3 separate regions of the Homo sapiens genome follow, and all the other regions are linked to region 1. Evidence: promoter capture Hi-C in 16 types of primary human blood cells and fetal thymus (Javierre and others, 2016). All regions are on one chromosome and are shown on one strand. The core of a region is centred on a gene start or on the middle of the fragment in contact, and the rest is flanking DNA. Distances in the headings are between cores, read along the strand shown.

The links. The method cuts DNA at HindIII sites, captures the fragments that hold promoters and counts their contacts. A CHiCAGO score of 5 or more calls a contact.
Region 2: the fragment with the promoter of ARHGEF33 here is called in contact with the fragment with the promoter of HNRNPLL in region 1 in 10 of 17 cell types (total B cells, naive B cells, naive CD8 T cells and 7 more); the score reaches 14.4 in total B cells.
Region 3: a contact is called between a fragment that was not itself captured here and the fragment with the promoter of HNRNPLL in region 1, in 1 of 17 cell types (erythroblasts). The highest score is 5.1, in erythroblasts.

The regions. Positions count from the first base shown.
Region 1 is chr2:38,600,593-38,605,664 of GRCh38, reverse strand. It overlaps HNRNPLL (heterogeneous nuclear ribonucleoprotein L like), which reads left to right and starts at 2,737. Exons shown (of 13, transcript NM_138394.4): 1 at 2,737-3,227. The coding sequence starts at 3,039. RefSeq lists silencers at 2,558-2,627, 2,848-2,897, 2,918-3,017. The HindIII fragment of the contact is 8,602 bases long and covers 1-5,072 here.
Region 2 is chr2:38,887,956-38,893,027 of GRCh38, reverse strand. It overlaps ARHGEF33 (Rho guanine nucleotide exchange factor 33), which reads right to left and starts at 3,153. Exons shown (of 18, transcript NM_001145451.5): 1 at 3,042-3,153. The HindIII fragment of the contact is 7,511 bases long and covers 1-5,072 here.
Region 3 is chr2:38,320,925-38,325,996 of GRCh38, reverse strand. The region is part of intron 2 of ATL2 (atlastin GTPase 2); the gene reads left to right. Among named protein-coding and RNA genes, the nearest start is that of ATL2, 54 kb to the left of the region's middle. The HindIII fragment of the contact is 2,784 bases long and covers 774-3,557 here.

The sequences.
Region 1 (5,072 bases), core at 1,488-3,987:
TAATGCATGAGAGGTTCCAGACAGTCATGGCATTTAGGAGCTGTTTCTGCTTTTCTTAGGTATTTCTGGCTACTGGGCAGTGTGTAATTTCTTTGTCTCACCTAAGTGAAATAATGTAGAGTATAATTTATGTCCTCTCTCTTTAGCTCCTCATGCCCTGGTGATGAGCTAGCTAGTATTTTCCTTATCAAAGGACCTACTGTCACTGTCTGAACAACTCATCTGCAACAAGCTCGCATTTCACCCATGGTTAACGAACTGATTGGTGTCCTTTAAAAATGCTTTCTAAGTTTTACTCCCTCAATATTTTTTTTTTTACTCAACTGGGCTACTTACAAAAAGAACAAAGTTTAATACTGGTACATATTGAATTCCACCTGCTGTTTGTGAACGCTGAGCACAGCAGCCCTAGGTTTGGCAAGGCTGGATTTCCTTACCCATTGGTGTGACAGTTGCATTGTAATGTGGTATAATCCATAGGTTGAATGCAGGGCTTTGAGAATTTAAAATATTTGCATCTTCACAAGAAATATTTGGAAAGTTTGTATAAGGCCTAGTAAATCCAGTTGTGAGTGAATAGAATTTACCAAACTAAATTCACCTAGCATATGAAAATGTACATAAAACAAAATTAACAGGTAGTTGCTCATACTTAACAAAAAGATATTTAGTGCTTCTCATCACACTCAATTATTTCACATAATATTCTATTGTTTTCTTTCTCCTAAAAAATAATTGTTTTAAGCTCTCAGCTCTTCTCTTTTAATTTGAGCAAACTAAAAATATCTTGAGAATGGCCCATCTCACCTCATCAAAGAAGTTTCCTTTGTATCAAGTTTATTAATTCACTCATCCTTTCCTGATCTTTGATACTGAGACTGCTATAAAAAGGACAATGGATGCTAAAGATAACACGTGAAGTAGGTTTGTTAGACCTTTTTTTTGACCCTTGGTATCTTCAGCTTTCTGAAGGCCAGGTAATGTCTGCATTCTGAATATGTTAGGGGACATATGAATCCATAGGACATATTTTAAGCAGAATTGTATCATTGTTTCCCTTGTTGCTATTTTACTTTCCCAAACCATTGCAGAGCTTTTTGCCAATGACATTTTCTCATCCGCAGCCAGCTCTGCCACTCTTTTGCTATTTCTTCTGTCGACTTCCATTTTAATTTAAAAAATAAATTTATAATTTTTTTAGTTCTGTTTTGTCAATGTATACCTGCAGCCGCACACACATTTGATTATAGCTGCATAGTGTGGAAAATCTTGCAATTAGATTCCAAAATGACAGCCGGTGTAATTTACAAAGTACAAAAGTGTTATGTTAAAGCACTCTCAGCAATAAATAAAAATAGCTTTTTTGGAGGAGGAAATAACTTTGGAGAGAACTAGGCTGGAGGAGGAAGCAATCTACACTCTTAGGAAAGGAAGAGCCACATCTAGGAAAGCATCCGAGGGACAAGGACAACAGAAACACAAGAGGCTCTTGATCTCAGGCAGTCCTCCAAGAGGCACCTGACAGAGGGCAGTTAGGTTGCCTTGATTTGCCAGTTTCTGTCCTGAAAGATACACTGGACCTTTATTTCCCAAGGACTACTCATTCAGCATTGTTGAGCACCTAAATTGTGCTGGAGATCGCACAGGAACTGGGCTTGCGAAAATGAAAATTGCACACAGTTCCTGTCTTCAGGCGCTCACAGAGTTTTTAAAACAGAACATCTTAAGAGGGAGTTATAAGGGGCCCTGTTGCAAAAAGAGAGCAGCAACTAAAATCTTGGAAAAGCCCTCAGGACACCACAGAGGAAGCAAGCTGTGATCACAGAACTTTGAAAGGCTTTTGTATCTTTCGACAATAAATGATCAAGTGAAGTAAATACATTGTCCAGAAGAGAAAGAATTGGGATGGAGGATGAGATTTTATATGGAAGGATTAAAACATATTTAACTGGAGCAGGGACTTACAGGGACAGGCAAGTCAGTAAAGGGCCCAGGTTACAAACGAGTTATAACCGATCAGACCGACGAGCGCCCGCGTGCAGCGCCTCCTGCCGACGCGCGCCTCGCAGCCTTCAGTCAATGCTGACAGCTGTTCTCCAACACCCAGCTAGGGGCGGGAGGGTCCGCCCACTTCTACCAGATTTTGCACACAAAACAGTGGAAAGACCATTCTCATGGCTCCAAGCCGTTTTCTCCCTTCATCGCCTGCAATTTTAGGGCTTTTCGGGGGGTATGACTGCAGGGATTTTAGAGGTTTTTTTCCTCATTCTCTTTTTAAGAGGTGATAAAAAGCATTTAAATTAGCGGCAGGGCGGTTAACACCCGCAGCCCTAGCCTCTCCGCACTTCTCGTCGCTCGTCCGTGTTCACTCCACGCCTGGCCTCGGGTAGGAGCCGCATAGCGCCAACGGTTGCGGGTCGCAACTACTCCCAGGCGGCGCGCCTTGCGCGCCGGGCCTCCCAGGACCGCGGCGAGTTCAGAAGGCGCGGGGAGAGAAGTGAGGTCGAGCAGCGGGCGGCTTTTGACGAACGGCCCTCACAGCCAATGGGAAGCCCGGTCGACTTTCCCGCCCCTGCCAATAGGGAGCAGAACCCGGGCCGGGGGGGGCGCTTCCCGCAGGCTGCGGCTGGATTCGATCCTGCGCGACGGCCGCGAAGGCGGGGGCGGAGGCTCGGCCTGCGCGGCTGGGAGCGGCTTAGGGGAGGAGGGAAGACCGGAAGCCACGGTTGCGTCCCCATCCTTAGATTCGCTCCTCCGGGCAGGGAGCGGAGACGGAGGAGGAGGAGGGAGAGGCTGAATGTTGGCTCGGTAATTGAGAGGAGCGGCCGCTCCAGAGCTTCCTCCCGGGGCGCCCCCCTCAGTCCGTCCGCGCTTCTCAGCCGCCAGTCTCCTGGCCGCGCAGTCCCCGCGGACGGCCGGGCCGCGGAGACCCTCGCAGAAGAGGCGCTGCCGGCGGCGAGGACTGGCCGGCGGCATCCGAGGCGCGCGCCCCACCGCCACCCCCACCCGCCTGCCAGCCGGTCCCTCCGGCCGCCGCCATGTCCTCCTCCTCTTCCTCCCCCAGGGAGACGTACGAGGAGGACCGGGAGTACGAGAGCCAGGCCAAGCGTCTCAAGACCGAGGAGGGGGAGATCGACTACTCGGCCGAGGAAGGCGAGAACCGCCGGGAAGCGACGCCCCGGGGCGGGGGCGATGGCGGCGGCGGCGGCCGGAGCTTCTCTCAGCCGGTAACAAAGCGCGGCCCCCCTGTCCGCTGTGCCTGGCTGCTCCCCGGGAAGCAGGGCCTCGGTGCGGGGCCTCCCGCTTGCTTCAGTTAGCCTTTTCCGCTGCGCCGACCCGTTTGGGGAAGCGCCCACTCTTCTCTTTGGGGCTCGTATTCTGGCCTCTACCTGTTTCCCGCATCCCGACTGCGAACCCGGCGCCGTCCTGGCCGCAGGCCCCGCAGCGAGTCCACTGCCGGGCCCTGAACTTGGGGAGGGTCGCGGCGCGGCGGCGGCGGCGGGGAGGCGTCGCTTCCGCTCTGGGGGGTTTCGCGGCTCGGGGAGCTCTTTGTTAGTTTAACTCCTCGGGCTCGGGGCCAGCGTCGGGACCACCGGTTCTCTTCAGTCCCTCTGCCCGCAGCAGCCGCGCGTTGGTCACCATCCCGGGATGGTTGCGTCGGTTCTACCGGGAGCTCTCTCCGCCTCGGTCCTATGGAGACCCGTAATTAAATAACAGATTATGCCTTGGCGTTCACATGCTAGTTCCCTTGAAGGTTTAATTTAAAAAATTTTAAAATTAAACTCTTTATAAGCATGGCGTGCATCCTTTGCTCTACCCAATTTTGTGGATTACTCAGTACACTTTTTACCTCTTCGGTTACAACACTTCAACAGAAGTGTTGGCAGCTGTTGGTACACCCCTACCTTCAAGTAAAACAAATCTTAAAATTACTAAAGTTTTTCATTGGTAATTTATTCCACATTTGCCCCATGAAAGGATGAAGTGAGCTCAGGGTTGCATTAAACACACATTCCTAGAGCCAGGTCTTTCTCTTACCAGAAATGTTAGGGGGAGGCAGAAGGAATGTGATCATTTTGTCCACAGCAAGTAGTTAGCTTCAGTTGGATGGAGACTTTAAGGAAACAAAGCGGAGCAAACGTTATTGCCCTTTTTTGGTGCACTTAAGCGGTTTTAATGACTTAGATGTTATTTAAACATTTAACACATGAATTGTGATTAATTCTGCAAACTTTAACAGAATTACGAAACTGTACACATATATCCTACTATTAGGTTAAAAGGGTTTTTACCTTACCTTTTAAAAATAAGACGCACATTAGAAGCCCTTTATAGCCGTTTGAATTTTTAAATAATAAAAAAAAAGGCTGGTCAGTCACCCAGCGTTGCAGTTTCCAGTTACCAGGATGTGAGAGCAAACTTTGCAACACATTTAAAAAAGGAACTTTTTCTCTCAGTCTTGTTACGGTGTTAGCTATTACTTTAGATTTTTGTGCCGAGCTATTTGAAATATTCAAAATGTAACTTGGAAGTGTGAATAAAGGAAATGGTTTTTTCTTAGGAAGTTTCAGTTCAAAGCCAACTCTGTTGTGGAAATTGGAAACAGGAATATTATAACTGATATTTCGATGTATTCGATCAGTGTACCTCGTTGCTAGAAATCTTGCTTGGGTTTTTGTGCAGCATCATGAAATGTCTTCAGGCATTTTGGAAAGATACTTAAATCAGATTATAAAAATTTGTTTTTGAAAACAGATAAAGCATTAAATCAATAGTATTATTTTGGATGTTGGGAAGAAAATAACATATAATTAATGTATCCAAAGCGAAATGTGTGGAGCGGTGGAAATGGCACTGAGTAGGGCTTGGGGGTGGTCAAGAGTCTAGGCTTAGCATACAATTTTTTTTTTTTTTTGAGAGGATCTCACTCTATGGCCCGGGGCTGGAGTGCAGCAGCTCTGGAGTGCAGCAGCTCGTGATCACGGCTCACTGCAGCCTTGATCTCCCTGTCTCAAGCGATCCTCCTACCTCAGCCTCCCGGGTTGCTGGGACTGGAAGCCTGCATCACCACG
Region 2 (5,072 bases), core at 1,904-4,403, 290 kb before region 1:
GAGCTTGCTCTGCAGTGGAGAGAATGAGTCATTGAAAATGTTTAAGCAGAGGTATAACAAGATCACATATCTCTGGTAAGAAGATGACTTAGTGGCACTGTAGAGGAAAGAGCAGCTGCAAAGAGGCCAGTGAGCAGGCACCTTTAATAACTCAAGTAAAAGATAATGATGACCTGAATTAGGGAAGTGACTCTTAGAAAGGAAAGGAGGGCACAGATAGAAGCGACATTTCAAAGGTTGCTCCATGAGCCAAATGTATGCTTCACCCAAGAAAAAGAGTTGGATAGTCACTCTCAGATTCAGAAGGAGGAAATATGTCATAAGATAATTTTTAAAATTACTCTAACTTATTTGAACCAGGAGACTAAAAGGAGGCTGAATATGCTATAATAATGAACTTGGTTCTACAATTTTAGCAGAGCCTTAACTTTTGTTTTTGTCAATTGGGGGTGCACTGACTAACTCTGCTAGGAGATGGGGAAAGCACATTTTAAAATGTCTCAAAAAAGAAATACAACCATCCTTTCTTTCCCATTGTTCATCCTTTGCCCGGGTGTTATGGTACTTAGCAGATGTCAGTTAGGTTTTTCTACTTTTCCCCAGTTATCTGTTTACCCACCTTTAGGCATCATCTCTACCCACCCCACCTACTCACACACTCCATAAAAAACCCAGTGAAAATTACGAGGAGGAGATTTTTTTAGAGAGCATAAGAATTTTCCAGTATTTGCTTCTTCATTGCTTGCTAAAACCATGCCAGCATAGCCTGGGGAAAGGTGGAAAGGGCTGGCATTGCCCCATATAAGGGAATTATATCCTCAAATCATTTGAGATAAGTAGGCCCCAAAGACAAATCCAAAACAGCTACTCCCTCATTCTCAGGAAATAAATTCTAGAGATTTCCTCAAATGGATAAATTTGAGAATCCGATTAGCTGCCACTTTTTCTTTATTTTTCTGATTATTTTAGGAAGACTCAAACAGATGTTAATACTTACTACCCTGTCTTTTTGTCAGTAAAGGCATGAACAGACAACAAAATAATCATGAACATACCAATCAGAAGAGTGCTCTCTGTAATATTAGCATTTATGATTTGTTTCGTTCATCTTATTTGGGGCATTCAAAGTGCTTTACAAATAACATAATGAGGGTTTTTTTTCCTTCCATGACTCCCAAGGTGATTCCTGGCACTCTCAAAAGGCACAAGTGATTAGTCAAGTCCTTGGGGCCCAGCAGCAGTAATGTGATGCATGTTGGTTAAACTGTGTTTCACACTCATGTAAATTGTGTGGGGGGCGGGTGGGGAATCTTCCACACTGTCCTTGAGAAGATTAGCAAGAATTATGAATTTAAAGATTCTTACATTTATAAAAATCCAAACAAAGAGAAATATTGAACAAATCATACTCCAGTCCTAAAATCAAAGTCTAAGGGTCTTAACCTGTGGTCCCAGGAATAGGGTTTCAGGTCACCTGTAAATCTTCTGAAATTGTATGCAAAATTTTGTGTGATTTTACTTTTTTTTTTGCAGAAATGGTGGACTGGTTTCTGAAGATTCTAAAAGCAATTCTTGACACCGAAAAGGTTAAGAACTGCTGTCATTAAAGAAAAAGAAAGGAAGGAAGAGGGAGAGAGGAAGGGAGGAAAGGAGAGAGGAAGGGAAGGAGGAAGATCAGTTGATCTTTGTATCTACATTACTTAGTTTATTACTGGCCTGCTATGTTGAAGTACACCCTTATACACAGAGAAAAGGGAAGGTAAATAAAGGGAATTAAGAAAAAGTTAACAATAAGGCCGAGCATGGTGGCTCACACCTGTAATCCCAGCACTTTGGGAGGCTGAAGTGGGAGGACTGCTTGAGATCAGGAGTTCAAGACCAACCTGAGCAACATGACGAAACCCCATCTCTACAAAAAATACAAAAATTAGCCGGGTGTGGTGGTGTGCACCTGTGGTCTCAGTTACCTGTGGGGGCTGAGGTGGGAGGATTGCTTGAGCCCAGGTGACAAAGTGAGACCTTGTCTAAAAAAAGAAAAGAAAAAAGAAAAAAAAAAAAACCAATAGTATGGTCATCTTGTTTCAAAAGCCTCTGAGTTTTCAAATGAGTTTAGATTGCATTTCCAGAGCCCATGGTTATGAAAAATGTAGACATTAATTAATTCAGTTTGTGAAAAATGTTTAGAATAAATGTGCATCAAAAACTTTTTTCTCTAGGATACATTTCTGATCATTATGTTGAATCCTTCAGAAGTAGCCTTCAATGAAATAGCTATTCCATTTACAGCAATATGATTTTGTATTAAAAGGGGCTATTAAAAATATAAAAGGGTGATATAGAGATTTCTACATATTCAGAATACTATTTCAGCATATAAAAACTCACATAATTCCAATACTAATTATAATAGAACGCTATTCTCACTTAAGACAATGTTTAAGTGAAACTCAGTTCTTCTCATTACACACCAAAGCCCCATGAAGTGTTTAGAATTAGGTTTCACCAATAAAGCCCCCATGTAATTAATCAGTACACATTTTCAATCAGGATATGTTTTTTGTTCTGTACATAGGGGAGTGAATGCTGAAGATTCCCCTATTCTTTTTCTGTGTTAGAAAGGAATAAACCAATCTCCCTCCATCCCTAATCTTTTTCATTCTTTAATTATTCTTAATCCCAAAGAGGCATGTCCATGTCAGATTTACGCTGTCTAGCATCCTTTCTTTAAGACTGCTCTCAAAATTTAACTCATCTTCAACTATATTTATTAATATGCAGAACAACTTCAGTCTCCAGTTTATCGATAACCTGCAAAGCGCAGTTAAGACATAATATAAAAATTAAGCAAGGAAATAAATGTTTTACAAATTGTTATAACTCTTAAATAAAAGTTATTTCTTTGAATGCCTACCTCAAATAAATGTTAGCATATATTGGATTTAAATTAGTACACCACGTGGTAAGGATTGATGGGTTTTCATCTCTTATAAAATTGTTTCCCCTTTCAGTGCCCCTTAAAGCATATAAAAGCGCATACTTACCCCATGTTGCCTGCGGTGGTTATATCATCCTCAGATCAAGGCTTATCTGGGTTCTGAATTAACTTAAAGGTTATAAAAAGAAGCAGTAGAGAGGCTTGACTTCCCCTGAAACGAGACCGTAGTATGCTAACCAGGCTTTTAAATGAGGAAAACTAGTGTCTCTTCTAATTATATAAGCTCCAGGTCAAATTCTAGCATCAACTAATCAAATAACTGAACTGCATTTAGTTTCAATGAGTAAAAAGGAAGAAACCCATTTAGGAGGAATATCTTTGGTATACTAGAAAATTGAAAAGTTGTACTTTGAAAAGTTATTAACATAGCAATACAAGTTAAATATTTTAAGAGTAAAATATATATCTTGCTGCCTTAAATAAATTGAAAAAAATTAGGGAAAATTTATTTTGCAGCAAAGCAGATACTTTTCTATATTTTCCAGAAGTTTTTGAATTTAAATTATATGTCCTGGTCCCTGAAAACATCTTCTCACCTTATCTTAACTTGTCCAGTATTTGTCTCTTCATGAATTTCCATATAATAATAATATTTAATTCTAAAGCCATGCCAGCTAATGTTTAGCAACATATACAAAAATGTCCAATTCTTAAAATGTGTCTTTGAAAACTTACAAATAGGGTCTTTCAAAATTAGCCATAAAGCTATTATTATGAGAAACTAACAAAAATGCCATTTTTATTTTAACATTTTAGAAGACATTGTAACCCAAATTTGTGCCAGTACAGCAAAAAATAAAAATATACATCTTTTGGCAATAACATATTGAGAAATACAAATATTCACAAGATTTTGAATAGAGAAATATGACAAAGAAGTTATCTATTGTGTACACTATTTTTTGTCAGTTTTAGAATATAGAGTTTCAGCAAAAACATTCAGGTCTTTATTGTAATTTTTTAAATGTAGTTGACATATACTGCTCTGGTAATTTTTAAATTATCTTATGTAAAAAGTAAAGAAGTTTTCTGGACATAGAATATATGACAACACACAGATCTACTTTTTAAGAAATTGAGACATAATTTACACATCATACATAAAATTTGTCCCTGTTAAATGAACAATTCAGTGGTTTTTAGTACATTTTCAAGACTGTGCAACCATCACCACTGTCTAATTCTAGAAACCTCATGCCTCCCAATTTCTTCCTCCCCTGGCAACCACTAATCTATTTTCTGTCCCTAAGGATTTGCCTATTCAGAGCATTTCACATAAATGGAATCATATAATATGTGGCCGTTTGTGACTGGTTCCTTTCACTTAGTACAATGTTTGTTTGTTTGTTGTTTTTGAGATGAAGTTTTGCTCTGTCACCCATCCTGGAGTGCAGTGGCATGATCTTGGTTCACTGCAACCTCTGCCTCCTGGGCTCAAGCAGTCCTCCCAAGTAGCTGGGACTATAGGCATGTGCCACCACACCTGGCTAATTTTTGTATTTTTTGTAGAGATGGGATTTTGCCATGCTGCCCAGCCTGGTCTCAAACTCCTGGCAAGCGATCCACACACCTTGGCATCCCAAAGTGCTGGGATTACAGGATGAGCCACCTGCCTGGCCAGTACAATGTTTCTGAAGTTCATCCATGTTGTAGTATCAGTACTTCATTTTTTATGGCTGAATAATATTCCATTATGTGGACATTTTGTTTACACATTCATTAGTTGATGGACATTTGGATTGTTTCCAGTTGGGGCTATTATACATGTCTTAGTCCATTTGAACTGCTATAAGAAAATACCTTAGACAGGGTAATTTTAAACAACAGAAATGTATTGCTCACAGTTCTGGAGGCTGTTAAGTCCAAGATCAAGGCACTAGCAGATTTAGTGTCTGGTAAGGACTTGCTCTCTTCTTCAAAGATGGCACCTTCTTGCATCATTCTCTTGTGACAGAAGAAGCAAGCAATCTCCTTCACATCTCTTTTATAAGGGCACTAATCCCATCCATGAGGGCTCTGTCCTTATAACCTAATCACCTCCTAAAGGCCTCAACTCTTAATACTACCACAGTAGAGA
Region 3 (5,072 bases), core at 916-3,415, 280 kb after region 1:
GGCAGACACCACTGCACCTGGCTCCTTAGTTTTTTAGTGGGCCTGAGTCCTGGTCTATGACCCTCTTTTTTTTTTTTTTTTTTTTTTTTTAAACAAACAAACAAACAAAACCTTAAACTAGACAGGAAGCCTAGATGGGGCTGGAGTTGGCTAATTTAATTGCTCCTCCCTAGGGTCAGATAAAGCTCTGGTAAAGTAGTTTTCTCAGGAGGGCAGGCTTTTGTTGTGGGGACTGGTGTGTGTGTGTGTGTGTGTGTGTGTGTGTGTGTGTGTGTGTGTGTGTGTGTGTGTGTGTGTACTGGTGTGTGTGTGTGTGTGTGTGTGTGTGTGTGTGTACTGGTGTGTGTGTGTGTGTGTGTGTGTGTGTGTATGTACTGGTGTGTGTGTAGATAGTGGTTACTTTCCCAGGGTGAACTTAAAAAGTGTTACTTCCCCTCCCCTTGTCAGTCATGAGGGAAACTTTCTTCCGTAATTACTTTGAGAATTTTGTGGAGTTCTTTGAGATAATATTCAGGAAAGTGGGGTGTTTTCTTAGACTGAGCCTCTAGGGTTTTTAGTGCTTAAACTAGTTCACTCTCAGCTTCTGACAATTCATTGAAATTGCCATTTAAGTGTTCCTACCAGTTGCTGCAGCAGTTGCTGGTAAGCTGACCTCAACTCCTGATCCTTTGTGTTAGTTTGTCTCTTGTGATTTTGCAGGGATGGTTTGACCTGTGATCTCAATTCTTTGATCTAAGAAAGGAGAGTTTATTGATTTTTCAGTTTGCTAAGCTTTTCTCTTGTTGTAAAGATAGGTCTGATGACTTCTAAACTTTTTACATGAGAAAGCTGACACTGGAAGTCCAATGGAAGACTCTAAAGTCAAATCTCAGTTTAATTACAAGACGTGTCTGCCCCTTCCGTTTTGTTAGCCCTCAAGGGCAACTTTTTTTAAAATTGTGGTAAGATATACATAACATAAAATTTACCTCTTTAACCATTTGTAAGTGTACACTTCAGTGGCACTAAGTCTGTTCACATTGTTGTGTAGCCATTGCCACTATCCATCTCCAGAACTGCTTCATCTTCCCCAGCTGAAGCTCTGTGCCCATTAAACACTAACTCCCCATTTCTCTCCCCAATCCCCTGGCATCCACCATTCTACTTTCTGTCCCTATGAATTTGACTAAGCACCTCATATGAGTAGAATCATAGAATATTTGTCCTTTTGTGTGTGGCCTATTTCATTTAGCATAGTGTCTTCAAGGTCAAAGACACCTTTTGAGCAGAACCTTTTATCAAAATATGTTAAATTCCTCTTCAGCATGTACCTAAGTAGTTAGAGTTGTCCTTTTTCTGGGCTCATGACTTGGGTCAGTCATAATTTCATTGATTTGTCCAGCCCCAGATGGGAAGAGTTGGGCATGGGGTGGGAATGGGGTTGGATAAGATGTTAGACAGTTTTAAACTGTTTTAAAGTTAAATGTTTTATAATTTGTTCCAGGACTTGCAGAGTATTCTCACATATTCAAATGAAAACAGTAAATACAATTGGTGGTTAGAATGTGTACAGTATTTATTGTGTCCATCACTTTGGGTGCTGAGTGTTCATAACCTGTCTCCTGATTAGGTACTAGTTTTATACACATGAAGATTTTCATTTGTGGTGGTGTGGGGAATGTCATGCAACTAGGGAGGATCTCGCTTATTATTGTAGCACTACTTGGATTGTTTTTTTTGAGACTGAGTTTCGCTTTTGTTGCCCAGGCTGGAGTGCAATGGCGCGATCTTGGCTCATCGCATCCTCCGCCTCCCGGGTTCAAGCGATTTTCCTGCCTCAGCCTCCCGAGTAGCTGAGATTACAGGCATGCACCACCATGCTTGGCTAATTTTTTTGTATTTTTAGTAGAGACTGGGTATCTCCATGTTGGTCAGGCTGGTCTCAAACTCCCAGCCTCAGGTGATCCGCCCGCCTCGGCTTCCCAAAGTGCTGGGATTACAGGCGTGAGCCACCTTACCGGCCCACTTGGATCTTAATTTCATTCTTTTTATTCCTTTTACTCCCAGTTGTGATGATTTATGGCTTTTGTATGAACCTTTATTCTTCCAGCCTATCCATTGTGAAAGGGAGTCAGCTTGCCAGCAGTCAGGAGCGGGTGTGCTCTGATACATGTAGGCCTGGCAGGACAACCAACCCTTTGATCACTTGAGCCCAGGATGTCGAGGACAGTGAGCTATGATCGTGCCATTGCTCTCCAGCTTGGGTGATAGAGCAAGACCCTGTCTGTGTCTGTCTGTCTCGTTTTCTTTCTCTCTGTCTAACTAACTAAATAAATGGTTACATAGTTGTTTCACTTTGTTGCTAGGGAGTATACCTTTCCTTTGGTAAAATATGAATTTGTTTCTTACTGTTTAGAATAGGTAAGGTTTCTTAATTGCTGATAATTATATTATGTAGAACGTCTTTTTGGCAAGGGCTGTATTTATTCACTATTTGATTATACTTAAACTTCAGGCTGGGCATGGTGGCTCATGCTTGTAATCCCAGCACTTTGAGAGGCTGAGGTGCTGAGGTGGGAGGATTGCTTGAGCTCAAGAGTTCAAGACCGGCCTGGGCAACATAGCAAGTGAGACCCCATCTCAAAAAAAAAAAAAAAAAAAAAAAAAACTTCTGGTGATTTCAGATTGCCTTTTGCAGTTGAGTTTTATTCTATAAATACTTCTTTTTTTCCTATTTACTTTATATGTCTGGTGGAATAGGATTACTTTTGCATTTCTGAGTTTTGAGGCTTTTGTCTCCATAGTAGTAAATAGTATCAGATTAGTGTTTTTGAGTTTTTAGGTTTGCTTTTAGTAAATTATCACAGCAAATAGGGTCTGTTATCAGCAAGGCTGCCTTTAGCTCCCACTAAAATTCTCTTTGTGGGCAGGAATGTTTATTCTTGTTCACTGCTGTATCCCTAGAAAAATGGCTGGCACATGGTAGAGGTTCCACAAATATTTAATGAATGAATGACTGTATTTTATGAAAGCTGTCAGTGTTCACTATGTTAGAGAAATTATACACTTTTACACGTTTTAAAGAATCTGATTAGTTCTCTGATTTATTTTTTCATCTTTGTTGTTGTTGTTAAATAGAGGCAGGGTCTCTCACTCTGTCATCCAGGCTGGAGTGTGGTGGCATCATCATAGCTCACTGCAGCCTTGAACTTTTGGGCTCAAGTGATCCTCCTGCCTTGGCCTCCCAAAGTGCTGGGATTACAGGTGTAGCCACCACACTCAGCTTCTTTCATCCTTTTGCTGACTAATCAGTTTAGTATTTTTTTTTAAACATTTCCATTACAAGGTAACCTAGGAAGAGATGATACATAGTAGATTTTTATGAGACACCAATTCTTTTTAAAGTTTCTTTGGAAGAGGGGGCTGGCAAACATATAAGCCTATGATTTCAGTCATCTATACTTATAAAAATTTATTTTTACTGTCTTTTTATGATTGTATTGTTTCTAGGAATAATAACAAAGATCATATTTCTTCTGGATTTATTACCCATGCTCAAAAGGGAGTACATTGAAGCTTATAAGTAAACTTTTTTGTTTGTTTAAGAAATACTTAGAGTACCAACTACAAGCCAGGCACACTTCTCTGTGATGGGAATACTTGTAAGAATGAAACAAACAAAACTTTTGTGAAACTTACCTTCTTGTAGAGGAGATAGAAATAAGTAAAATGTAGAGTAAAACCAGAGTTCTCTTAGAGGAATTATTTGTGTAGCCTGTAACTTTTACAAATAATAAATTCATTAAGTACCAGATTTTTTTTTTTTTGACATTGTGGGGGAATGAGATTCTCCATGTCAGAACTTACAACAGTGCAAGGCACTTTGATAGGAGCAGTTTGGTGAACAAAGATGATTGTTTGTAGCCTTTGCTCTCAAGAGACTCACAAAAAAACTGCAAAACCATATAAAGGTAACTCCTTATAAATGGTAACTTTTTTTGGTATGGTAGAATCAGGAAGATGTGTGTTGAGATCTATGGGGAGTATCAGGAGCACAGACAAGAAGAGTAAATTAAAGATGGATTGTTATCAGCCTGGGCAACGTGGCGAAACCCCCTCTCTACAAAAAATACCAAAATCAGCCAGGTGTGGTGGTGTGCACCTGCAGTCCCAGCTACTTAGGAGGCTGAGGTAGGAGGATCCTTTGAGTCCGGGAGGATGAGGCTTCATTGAGTTCTGATTGTGCCACTGCTCTCCAGCCTGGGTGACAGAGTGAGACCCTGTCTCAAAAAAAGAAAAAAAAGAAAAAGAGAAAAAAGGATTGTTATGCAGCAGATCTCCAGATGGTCTTATTGGTAGTGCGGAGCCACAGATGACTTTTCAGCAGGACAGTGGCACGATTACATTTCTTGTGAACATTCAGTGACTATGGAAAAATGGGTTAGAGGATAGAGCAGGAGTTGCATAGAGACCAATATGAAGTATCCAAATATGTAGTCAAGGGGCAGGATCACCAGTTTTACTTGTCCGGGGAGTGTCAAAATAATCTTCTGATTCCTGTGAAGGGTGCCTCCTGAAACACAAGTCCATCATATATACTGTGAATGGAATTGTCTCAGGTGGCAGCCCCTTCTGACCAGCATAGATGAGGTCTTTAAGTTGTAGGTATTGAAAACTGAAGAAAAAGAAATGAATCCAAGAGAAGTTTGTAATTGATAGGATTGGTGGCCTACTGGGGATGGGAGTTTTGTGGAATAATAATAATAATTAAAGATGGTTTGAAGTTTAAGGCTATGTTAGGTGATGGTCTGAATGATACTGTCTTTTTGTTTTGTTTTGTTTTGTTTGAGACAGTCTCTCTCTGTTGCCCAGGCTGGAGCGCAGTGGTGCGATCTCAGCTCACTGCAACCTCCACCTCCCACAACCCACCTGAAACCCGGGTTCAAGCGATTCTCCTCCCTCAGCCTCCCAAGTAGCTGGGATTACAGGCATGTGCCGCCACGCCTGGCTAATTTTTTTTTTTTTTTTTTGTCATTTTGGTAGAGAGGGGGTTTCACCAAGGCCAGGCTGGTCTTGAACTCCTAGCCTCAAGT